Regions from separate parts of the Homo sapiens genome. Here regions 1, 2 and 4 are each linked to region 3. Evidence: promoter capture Hi-C in 16 types of primary human blood cells and fetal thymus (Javierre and others, 2016). All regions are on one chromosome and are shown on one strand. Each heading gives the region's core, a stretch centred on a gene start or on the middle of the fragment in contact. The rest is flanking DNA. Distances are from core to core; before and after follow the strand shown. Region 1 overlaps ETV1 (ETS variant transcription factor 1). Region 2 has its middle 3.2 kb from the start of ETV1. Region 3 holds the start of ARL4A (ARF like GTPase 4A). Region 4 overlaps DGKB (diacylglycerol kinase beta).

The links. The method cuts DNA at HindIII sites, captures the fragments that hold promoters and counts their contacts. A CHiCAGO score of 5 or more calls a contact.
Region 1: a contact is called between a fragment that was not itself captured here and the fragment with the promoter of ARL4A in region 3, in 1 of 17 cell types (monocytes). The highest score is 5.4, in monocytes.
Region 2: a contact is called between a fragment that was not itself captured here and the fragment with the promoter of ARL4A in region 3, in 1 of 17 cell types (fetal thymus). The highest score is 7.4, in fetal thymus.
Region 4: a fragment that was not itself captured here is called in contact with the fragment with the promoter of ARL4A in region 3 in 4 of 17 cell types (total CD4 T cells, M2 macrophages, naive CD8 T cells and 1 more); the score reaches 7.7 in total CD4 T cells.

Annotation. Positions count from the first base shown.
Region 1 is chr7:13,895,833-13,898,532 of GRCh38, reverse strand. It overlaps ETV1 (ETS variant transcription factor 1), which reads left to right. Exons shown (of 14, transcript NM_004956.5): 14 at 2,446-2,700. The coding sequence ends at 2,667. Among named protein-coding and RNA genes, the nearest start is that of ETV1, 92 kb to the left of the region's middle. The HindIII fragment of the contact is 1,566 bases long and covers 532-2,097 here.
Region 2 is chr7:13,991,374-13,994,295 of GRCh38, reverse strand. It overlaps a transcript of ETV1 not described here. Among named protein-coding and RNA genes, the nearest start is that of ETV1, 3.2 kb to the right of the region's middle. RefSeq lists an enhancer at 2,609-2,922. The HindIII fragment of the contact is 2,079 bases long and covers 211-2,289 here.
Region 3 is chr7:12,686,127-12,689,043 of GRCh38, reverse strand. ARL4A (ARF like GTPase 4A) reads right to left here and starts at 1,411. Exons shown (of 2, transcript NM_005738.5): 1 at 1,316-1,411; 2 at 1-878. The coding sequence starts at 789. The coding sequence ends at 187. It also overlaps the pseudogene LOC100505995. RefSeq lists silencers at 1,847-1,896, 2,097-2,376 and an enhancer at 1,366-1,902. The HindIII fragment of the contact is 3,768 bases long and covers 76-2,917 here.
Region 4 is chr7:14,454,075-14,456,835 of GRCh38, reverse strand. The region is part of intron 21 of DGKB (diacylglycerol kinase beta); the gene reads left to right. Among named protein-coding and RNA genes, the nearest start is that of DGKB, 450 kb to the left of the region's middle. The HindIII fragment of the contact is 1,781 bases long and covers 419-2,199 here.

The DNA of each region.
Region 1 (2,700 bases), core at 65-2,564, 1.2 Mb before region 3:
TATGTTTACCTTACAGACAATGCCTATGTGTACTTCTATTTCAAAATTAGGAAATGCCTAGAACAATATATACCAATATGTTAATGGTGATTATATTCTGGATGATATAATTATAGACCCTTTGTTTTAACTTAATTGATAATTTCTAATTTATCCTTCAGTATCCCCATATTACTTCTGAAATTTTAAGAGATAAAACATAATTTGAATATCCAGCCATTGAAAGCACAGCTCTAAAGCTATCTCCTTGTTTACTTTTGATTTATCTCCCTGGAAAAATTCCTGTTTTTTCTGTCTGTCTCAGTGTTGCATTTTGGCTATACTTAATGTACAGCATTTTGCACGTTAGTACTTCTGTTACTCATAATGGAAGACATCATTCCCCTTGGTTGGTTATCATCCCTTGTTCTAAACTCAGTAGCATTTAACATAGTCCAGCAAATGAAGTAGTAGCCCTAAAAATGTTTATTCAAAAGCAATACAGAAGGAAGCAGTGAGGAAAGGCAGAGTCCTTGAGAGATTGCATAAGCTTGATTGCATGTTACACATTTTAATTCATTTATTACATAATTTTTAAGTATAGCCAGTAGCAACCCGTCAAAGGAAGTCCAGTACTTAAAGCAAATGTATCTTCCTCCACAGCCCCAAACAAAACAAAGCACATTATAAAACACTCAGAGGTATGCAGGCCATTTATTTTATTTTATTTTTTCTCCAAATACTTTGAACAAAGAAAAAAATAAAGGAAAACTAGGATTTACTATCTCAGCTTTGTTCCTGATAGTGCTATTTTTATGTTTATGGTCATTTCATCATTTCACCTTTAAGATCTTAATTTTCTTTGTATGAAGGACTAAAGTAAATAAATGTATGCCAGACTCCTCTGTTTCTGGCACAGTGCTCTGTGCTGGAGACTTCCATCCCAACCTTGCAATGGGCTTTCTGAGGCGCCATTCCTGTCTCCATTTCACAGCAAAGGCCACTGAGAGGTAGTCTAAGAAACAGGTCCAAATTCATAAAAACTACTAAATGTTCATTCTTTCAAACCTAGGTACATTCAGATTATTTGAATTCTCTAAAGTGGTTCCTCTTACTTAAATTCAGGGCAAAAGAAACAAAAAATGTTCTAAATTTGAATTCAGAGCAGCAGCATTCATTGACAATTGTTACTTTTCCCTCAAAGATATAACAATACTTTATAACCCAGGAACACACTGTTGCCCCACATCAAAAATCAACTAGCAAATGCCTTGTTGATATACAGGAACATGGAGGTGTTGTGTCACCTTCAGCTTTCTAAAATCTCATACCTTTACACACACCCATACAAAGTGACTATCAAAGTTAATAGAAAGAACTGTATTCATCCACCCATCCCCCCACCCCGGGTTTTGAGAGCATCTCAGCATTGTCTATTAACAAGAGGCGTATTCATCTCACTCAGTTGTTTATAATTTTCTAGGGAAGCATTACTCTTCAGAATTTAAGTTTGGGGTATGTCATACCCTATAAATTATGCTACTTCTTTATTCCAGGCAGTTGTCACATTTCTTTTTCTCATTTCCTCCCTGTGCATTGTGTATTTTAAATTCCTTTCACTTTTTTACACCTCTTACTTCAATTTGACACTTTACACACATCCTTAACTCTGTCTAATGCATCTTGCCTTCATTTTTAAAAGTGATGTACCCAGGATACTGTCCTTTTGATCCATCTTTCATTTAAATGAGGCTGTGTATCCTTTCTTTCTTTCTTTCTTTCTTTCTTTCTTTCTTTCTTTCTTTCTTTCCTTTCTTTCTTTTTCTTTTTCTTTCTCTCTCCTTTCTTTCTTTCTCTCTCTCTTTTCTTTCTTTCTTTATTTCTTTCCTTTCTTTCTTCTTTCAACACACACTGCCAAAAAAGAAAAAAAGTAAAGAATCCATTTATTCTGTGAATCAGTGAATTACTAGTCTAGTCTTATTGGGAATAAAGCACATTTTTCTTTTAAATTTTGAATTTAGTTTTTCTACCATTTCAGATATGTAATATTAAGAGGGACAGTGTACCTTAAAAGTACAGATTTGTAGATACTACCTTTTAAAATGCAGAAAAAAAGCTTTCAATATGAAATGCCTGCATTAAATAATTGACTTTTTTTCAAAACAACGATGTAAGTTTACCTCTATATTAAGACAAGCAAATTCCTGTGCTTCCTAGCTATATCTGGAATTAATTAATTATTATTCAAGGTCAACATTTTGCATCTCCCTTGACTGAACTGTAGTTTATTCCACAAAGTAAAGACTTTTTTTTTTTTATGTGTATCTGCTATTAGTTGTTTGCTTTTTTGGGCCAGAGTTACCCATCCTTTCCTGTATATTAAACCACGTTTTTGGCTTTTTCCTTCCTGTCCTTCCCCATCTGGCGATGGTGAGGATGGGTTTTTCTCTTCCATGTTATCATCAGGTGGCTGGAGAGAGATATGTCTACAAGTTTGTGTGTGATCCAGAAGCCCTTTTCTCCATGGCCTTTCCAGATAATCAGCGTCCACTGCTGAAGACAGACATGGAACGTCACATCAACGAGGAGGACACAGTGCCTCTTTCTCACTTTGATGAGAGCATGGCCTACATGCCGGAAGGGGGCTGCTGCAACCCCCACCCCTACAACGAAGGCTACGTGTATTAACACAAGTGACAGTCAAGCAGGGCGTTTTTGCGC
Region 2 (2,922 bases), core at 1-2,500, 1.3 Mb before region 3:
AAGAGTATCATACTTTGTCAAATCCATTTCCTTATTGGTGGATACTGAAGTTGCTGCCAGATTTTTTCCTTGGTACCTAATATTTCAATAAATGTCTTCATGCACCATTGCTTTTATTTTTGTAGTATAGATTTCCCAAATGAGGATTATTGGATATAATTTTAGGGTCTAATAGATGTTCATTTTAAAGTCTAGTAGACATTGTAAGCTTACCTTCAAAAGGTTTCAAAAAGTCACATTCCAACCAGCAATATACATGAGTGCCCTTATCCTAGGATCCAACTCTAAGTATATTAGAAACTTCCTTCCAAATTGATGAGTTAAAACATTCTTTAAGGCAGGGCGCGGTGGCTCATGCCTGTAATCCTAGCACTTTGGGAGGCCAAGGTGGGCGGATCACAAGGTCAGGATTTGAGACCAGCCTGACCAATATGGTGAAACCCCATCTCTACTAAAAATACAAAAATCAGCTGGGCATGGTGGCGGGCACCTGTACTCCCAGCTACTTGGGAGGCTGAGGCAGGAGAATCACTTGAACCCAGGAGGTAGAGGTTGCAGTGAGCCGAGATCGCGCCACTGCACTTCAGCCTGGGTGACAGAGCAAGACTCTGTCTCAAAATAAATAAATAAATAAATAAATAAATAAATAAATAAATAATAAAAATAAAAAAATTCTTTATTTTTTAAGTGTACAGTATAATGTACTGATTTGGGGTGCAGTTAAAAGTTTTTTTTTCCACATTTATAAGTTGTTTGCAATTCCTCTACTTGAGGGAGTTTACAGATAGTCACCAGCTGAAAATGGCAGTATTGAGAGTGAGAGAGTATACAGCTACATAGTATCAGTTTCCTTGATACCCTTACCTTCTTCCCAGGCTCCACCCTCCTCTCAAATTTCTGCTACTCCTCACATACAGTGTTCCTGAAGCCACTGATTATCTTTCACCCTCCTGTGAGGACTCTATGTTCTCCTTTGGAATTATTTTCACTTGTTCATTTTCTTGGCCAATTTTGCTGTTTAATTTTATATCTTTTTCTTATCTATTTGATGTAACTGTGCAAACTAGATCTTTAACAATTTGCCTTACATACTGTTTTAATACAACAAATTTTAAAAGTTACTGTTTTACTTAATACTCTACTCAATTTTGAGCAAACTTCATTTGATTTTAATTATAGCAACCATTTAAAACAAGCAGCGCCATTTTAGCTTGTTGCCTTTCTGTAACTGCTTTTAGAAATTCACTTTCTTTAACAACGTGCAATTTCTTCATAATGCCATAGTAAGTTAACTGTAGAGAAGTCACTAATGAATATTATTTTACTTTATTAAATAACAGCAAGGGAAATATAAAAATTTAAATAGTTTTACATGCAACCTAAAAACTTTCCAAACTCAAAAATGGACTTTTTTTTGGAGGGGGGTAGCTTTCTCTCAAGAACTCTTATTTCAAAATCCAAATGGGATTTCAAAATACAAGCAAATAAATGTCAAAGCCTCTTGGCCTCTGCTCTGCCATTCTATGCCTGAAATCCTGCCAAAATGAAATTTTCCGTTCAAAAGGGCTGGCATTTACTAAACTGATGTTTTAAAGACATTCTCAAAAAGTAGTGGAAACTTTGTCCAGCTTTTTATGTTCCTGTCTTGTAGACAGAACAGCTGCCTTTGCAGATATTTTCCAAGATCTTACATTTTCTGAAAAACAAATTTTCAGCCCTTCCACTGTCTTCAGCAAGTGGGTCTATTGGTTTTTCCCAGTGCCAAGCAGAGAAGATAAACAACTGCCAAACTAGAAGCTAGTGTCTGAGTATCAAGGCATAGAAAGGACAGAAGAGATAGTGTTTCAGTAAGTATCAATGCAGAGAAAGGACAGAAGAGAAAGTGGGAGAAAGAAAAGAGGGTGGTTCAATCGTTCACAGTCAAGAGGGACACATTTATCTCAAAATTTTAGGCTGTTTCAACAAAACCGAGCTGTAGCGAGACTAGCTGCTTATTCACACGAGAACATCATTTTCAGTTACTATGAAGATCAAAGAGTTAAAAGATATGAGTTCGTTTAAAGAACTCAAAAGGGAAAATATGAAGCCACCGCAATACGTAGTAAAATCTGAGGCTTAACAGCGCAGCGCCTGAGAGTGCCAGTCCACTAAAGGGAGGGAGAAGGGGCGCAGAGCTTATGGGGGCCTGGGAAGGAGTGATAAGTCTTTGGAAATGGAAACTAAAGCTATCAGCCAGCGAAAACCATCAATATTCCTAAAAATATATAATACTAATAATACATAAAAGCTTTAAAAAACTAACAAGACACTGTGGGATACAAAAAAAGGTAGAAATGAAAATTACAGAATGTTAAGTGAAAAAACTGAAATCCATCTACAGTCGAACAGTTTGCACCTTTAAAAGCAATGACTTGAAGCAGCAAGCAAAAGTTCCCAGTCCTTAAGACTTTCTCCCCACTCTCAATTCTTTCTTTCCTCTAGTGCAAAAGCTGTCTAAGCAGTGCACGCCGGAATTATCCCCACGTGAGCCTTCCTTTAATTTCGGTCTTAATTTTTTTCTCTCTTGTTATTACTCCCAGACCCCAACCTCTTTTTCCTCATCTAGTATCTGTTTCAGGGACAGGACAAAGAGGAGGCAGCGAGCTGAAAAAAGTTTTGTGGTTTGGGATACTTGGGCCTTTGTTGTGTCATTTCCTCTACCCCTCCACGCCCCCAACCACGTGACCAAGAAGGGCCGGAATTTTGTGAATGGAGACGAAAGGTGGCTGTTGGGGCGGGCGGGACTCCGCCCCCTTCCCTAAAGCGGCCAATCTCCTAGCGGAGCGCTGAGGGGTCAGCAATAAACAACAATGGGCTGGGGATTTACGGCTCGTTATTGGCTGCGGGAAGAACCTCGCCGGGACCTAACCCGAAGCTCCGCCC
Region 3 (2,917 bases), core at 162-2,661:
TTAAGAAGCACTGCATTTACTCATCTTCCACAAGGCAACAGAGTTGGGCATCTGATTGTTCAACAAAACAAAGCTTTAATAGCATCCAGGAGGGCAGACAGGCAAACCACGCTGTAGACACTCTTCTATTTGTCAAAATCAGACCAGAGAAAACCTACTCCACACAGATATAATAGGTATTGATATTCATCTTTTCTTTTTCTGTTGCCGCAACATTTTTCTTCTTTTAATGATCATATCATGTAGTTTCTCAAGTCCTTCCTTTAGGCCATCTCCTATGATTGCACAGGTAGGCTGCAAATGCCAAGGAGTTGATGAGCTCAGTTCACCCATTGCTAACAATTTCTCAATTTCTGAAAGTGACAATGAGTTCCTCAAATCTTGTTTGTTAGCAACTATAAGTACAGGGACTCCCTGATTTTCTGATATCCTAGTTATTTTGTGAAGTTCAGTTTTGGCTTCTTCCATCCTTTCGACATCAACAGAGTCCACAACAAATACAATGCCATCTGTGCATCTGGTATATGACTTCCACAGTGGCCTTAATTTCTCCTGACCACCTACATCCCAGAAGTGAAAAGTGACTGTTTTAGAATTTCCCAAGGTTACCTTAATTTTCTCAGTGTTAAATCCTTTGGTAGGTACGGTATTTACAAATTCATTGAACTGCAGCCTGTATAAGACAGTTGTCTTTCCAGCACAGTCCAAACCCAGAATAACAATGTGGAAAGACTGAAATGAAGGCAGGTTGGACAGGATAGAAGTCTGGTCTGACAGCCCATTCCCCATTTCCAGGTGCAAATAAATGTCCCAAATTGAAATGCTTTTCTCTTCTTGGTTTACAACTTCTCTTGGTAGCTGATCCAGCTATAAGACTGCTGGGAGACGGAAGAAGGAATAAGTTATTCTCCCGAAATAATACATTAAAACAGGTTTGCTCTACTTTGCTAAAATAAACAACACGAAGAACTTACTATAACTTGCTGCGCTAAACAAACCAGACGAGATATGAAACGTACATGAAAACACACACAGTCCAAGACAAACGATGGAATAACAGTGATTGAAATTATCTGGTTTACTTAAATTGCAGTAATATGTACGTTTTTCTCCTGGGTCCCCAAACCTCAAAGACCTCATTCTGGAAAGAACCCAGTCACCAGTATCTGGTCTAAGTGGCCGTAACCACAAAGTGCCTATCTGGCAGAAAACTCATAGCAGATAGTCCTATCTTCGGAATCTAATTCCACATGCTTAACAGCATACCCAAGATCACTATTACCTCCTACCCCTTGCAAAATAACAACGTTCTCACCTCCCGATCTGGAGTCTGGGTCCAAATGAGAAAGCATTGGCAGGCGTTTCTACGCAGGGATAAGCACCCTTCCAGCTTAGCTCTCCAAGCAGCTCTGGCAGTTGCCGCACGAGAAACCTTGGACTCAGACTCCGACCACGCCCACTCCTCCCGGTCCACTCATGATCCCAAATCCCATTGGTCACCCGCATCAGGGAAGCCATGCAACTCCCGCCCCCGCTCCCTAATTGGTGAGGGTAACTGCCGCTCCCAGCGCGGCGGAGCTGAGCTCTCTCTCGGTCCACCGGCACCACCTGTTGCCCTTAAGTTAGAAAAGGCGGCGTTCCCAGAGGGAGCCGAGCAGCCGCTGCAGGTGAAGGGGAGCCTCGGGCGGTCAGGTCGCCGCCAGGCTGCCGGCTCCGTTCGGCCCGGCGCACCTGCAGCGCAGCCAGGGCGTCAAGCCAAGGCTCTCACATCCGGGGCCCGCAGTCACTGCCAACGCGTTAACCCTTTGTCCGCGGGCCCGAGGGTGCCGGCTGTTGCCGCGCGGGCCCCTGAGGCGCTAGAGATCCCACCTGGCGCGCCCGCCGGGATAAGCCCATCCTCCCCGAAGTGGGATCCCTTCACCCTGTCCCTCCGCACACGACCGGCTCTTCTCCCTCGGCAGGGCGTGGCCGCCCCGGCCGCCCACCCCGCCGCGGCTCACCTGACTAACCGTCCTTCCCTCTTCTTCATTCAGCGTCTCTCCCAGCCGCTGGGGAGGCGCGCTGATACCTGTTCCCTGGCACCAGGGAGGCGTGGGCGATGGCAGAGGACTGGGCGCCTGGCGGGCGCCGCGCGCCAGGCTGCCCTAACGGTGCTCGCCCGGCAGCTCCACGCGACAGTCCCCGCCCCCTGCCCGCGCGCCGCCCGGGCGCCGGCCTGTAGGGGGCGCGCAGGAGCCGCGTCTCCTAGCAACGCCAAAACAAGGTCGAGTTCGAATCGGCCTAGCGCTGGCTGCCCGCGAGGTCGGATGGGACTTCCGGCCTCACCCCTGAACGGTTGCTCCGGGTAGCTCTGTCTGCGGCGGCCCGCCAGCCTGGCACAGGCCCCGCCCGGCACCGCCTTCCCTCACGTCGTCTAGGGCGTCCGCGGGGCAGCAGCCACGTGATTCGCGGTTAGGGATTCCATAGTTCACGGGTTACGGCACACACGCGTTACGTATATATCGAGGTGACGTGGAAGTCCCCCAGTAGTTGACCTTAAACAGCCTGGGTTGACTGGCCTGGTAACTGCGCCTTCATTCGCTTTTTGTAGAGCAAATGAACGCGCTGTCTCACGTGTTTCTAGCAGCATCCCGGGGAACTGGCCACAGATAGAAATATTCCAGTTTGACACATAAGGAAATACACTCTGAAAGATGAAAGGGATGTTTCTTTTTTTCTTTTCTTTCAAATTGCTCACACAATTTTAATTGCAATAGATATAATTTCCAATATACCATTCAACTACACCATTTGTATGTGCTGGAGTGAGACAGGAGTATTTTGATTGAGTGTCCAGTTCTCTTTAAAACTAGCGTTTGCAGTTAACGACTTGGAAAATACAACACAAAAAGCCATCTAGCCTTTTTTTTTTTTTTAA
Region 4 (2,761 bases), core at 60-2,559, 1.8 Mb before region 3:
CCTTGTCCTCTATAAGAAGGTGATAATTAGGTTTTCAGGTTAGAAAAAAATCATGTCAATTATGTAGATGCTTGTTAAAATATATTTAATTCTTTATATAAACTTGAAACAATTACAAATGGTAAAATATTTTTGTGTAAACTTTTAAGTGAATACAGCTAATATATCAAATTAATATTAAGTTAGCACAACTCTTGGGAAGACAAACAATTGGAAAAATAATGTAAGAAGTGATTAACTTCTCAGGTAAAGCATTAGGTTTTGCTAGAACATCTACCTAATAAAACATCACTTATTCATAGCATGATTTAATTTCTTCATTTGACCACACTGAGTGCAATTTCATCTTTGAAAAGTCACATAGGATTGTTTTGTGCAGGTATATTAACATCCTCAAATTCTAATGATGTTGAAAGCTTGAGTTACCACTAGGTACTGCCAATGATTATGTTTTTTAGCTTATATTATACAGAATTAACTTCACTCTACATCTGAGTGCCTAAAAGAGTACTACAGGTTCAGCAGCTCTTATGTGAAATGCTTGGGATCCTAACTATTTCAGATTTCAGACTTTTTTATATTTTGGGATATTTCCATATACATAATGAGGTATTTTGGTGATATGACCCAAGTCTATCACAAAACACAAAACTCACTTATGTTTCATATATACCTTATACACATAACCTGAAAATAATTTCATGCAATATTCTTAATAATATTGTGCATGGAACAGAGTTTGAGTTAAGTACTTACGTGTTGAATTTTCCACATGTGGCATCCCGTTGGCCCTCAAAAATTTTAGATTTTGTAACATTTCGGATTTTGGATTTTTGGATTAGAAATGCTAAACCTGTATACGGTGTATACATTTTAAATAGTGAAGGCACAAATTCAACAGTGAAGGCACAAATTTATAAACACAAAACACTAGTGACTTTTTAAAGGAAGACGCTTTCATTGCCTTGGAGTTGATTTTAGCCCGTTGTCTTAAAGTTCTTAAACCCAATCTTTTCTAGCTTTAAATAACCAAAGGTAATTTCCTCTTCTTAAAAATTTCAGGGTATTAAAAACTTTCTTATATCTATTTCCTGAACCAAGTTGAAGAATGTTCAGTGCACATTCATTTAAAATACCTTTAAATGTTCCGACTCAATTACTTTTAATAGAGTGGAGAATGTTTGCTGTTTCTCAGAGTGCACAGCCAGAAAGGTTGGGTTTTAGTTAGAAAACATAGAAAATTACTTCCTGTGCAAAGGTACTCTCTAGAGAAATATAAGTAACCAGAAAACCCTACTGAAGACCAGTATATGTACTGGAAATGTCATGTAATTTCTTTGCACTTGTTGTGAACAGAATAATGGCATAAATAATGTTATGGTAAGACATTGACAAGATAAAATAAAAAGAGATTTTTGTTGATAATATGCAAAAATGCCACATCTGTTTTTATTCATTCTGCACTTATTTCTTTGAGGGAGCATTTCTACAGCTGTGAAAACCTAGGGAGTTTTTTACAAAACAATTTTAACAAATGTTCATGATTCCACACCAATGAAATGCATTTTAATTCCATTCAGAATGTTCCAAGCTCTCTAGCAGATAACCAGTAATAAAATTCATATTGAAGTTATGTCTGTGATTTTTAACTTCACTGCTCAAATGGTATAAGCAAGTTTTCCTGGTTGTCATAAAGAAATACAGAGAATTCTAAACAGAGTTTATAGAAAATTAAAAAGTATATTGATGGTTGGGAAGTTCAAACGTGATATTGGGTTCCATAGATAACCAGGAGACACTTCTGATGTCATATGAAAAAGACAAACCTTCGGTTCTATCTGTGTCTGAATTCTACTTCTGCCTCTTACCAGTTCTGAAGCCTAGGGTAAATTATTTAGAATTTAGTAGCATCCATTTCATCACCTATGAGAGTAGAATAGTGATTCTTAGTTCTCAGGATTGTTATACTATTAAATTAAATTGAATAATACATGTCATGTTAGCTAGAGTAATACCATTTCTTTTGTTTTTATTCCCATCAGAATTTACTATCAAAACTATCATGTGACTCAAGTGTATGCAGGATATTGATGCTATAATGCAGGGGTCCAGTAACTCTCTGGGATTTACAAAGATGTGTCAGAAATATTAGGTGATTCTTAGAAAGTGAAAAATGGAGTTGAAAGTTCATTGAAAGCTTTATTATTTAAAAGTTAACGTGCATCTGATAGCAATCATATATGATTTCTATATAATGCAAAGATCGTGTCACATAATCACAAGAGCACAAAATTTAGATTTAAAAGCCATATTATAATTCCTGAACGTGGAAGCTACCTTTGTAAATTGGAATGGTTTTCTTAAGACAATCTCACAGAGTTACTGCAACTATTGAACATGAATGTTTGTAAAAACATAGGCTACTAAATAATTGCCTTAAAATGTGTTTGCAGTCAAAATCCTAGTCAATAAAAGAACATAGGTCTGCTAGAGACATACAGGAAATACCATAGAATTAAGTGATTTTTTAAAATAGGGAAGTATTTTCAAATTAGAAGTGGATCAATGGGTACAAAAATATACTTAGATAGATGGAATAAGTTGTAGTATTCAATACTACAGTAGGAAAAGTATAGTTAACAATAATGTGTGGTATATTTCAAAACAGGTAGAAGAGAAGAAGTGTAATGTTCTAACACTAGAAAAGTTGAATGTTTGAGGTGATGGATATTCCAATTAGGCTGACTTGATCATTACACAT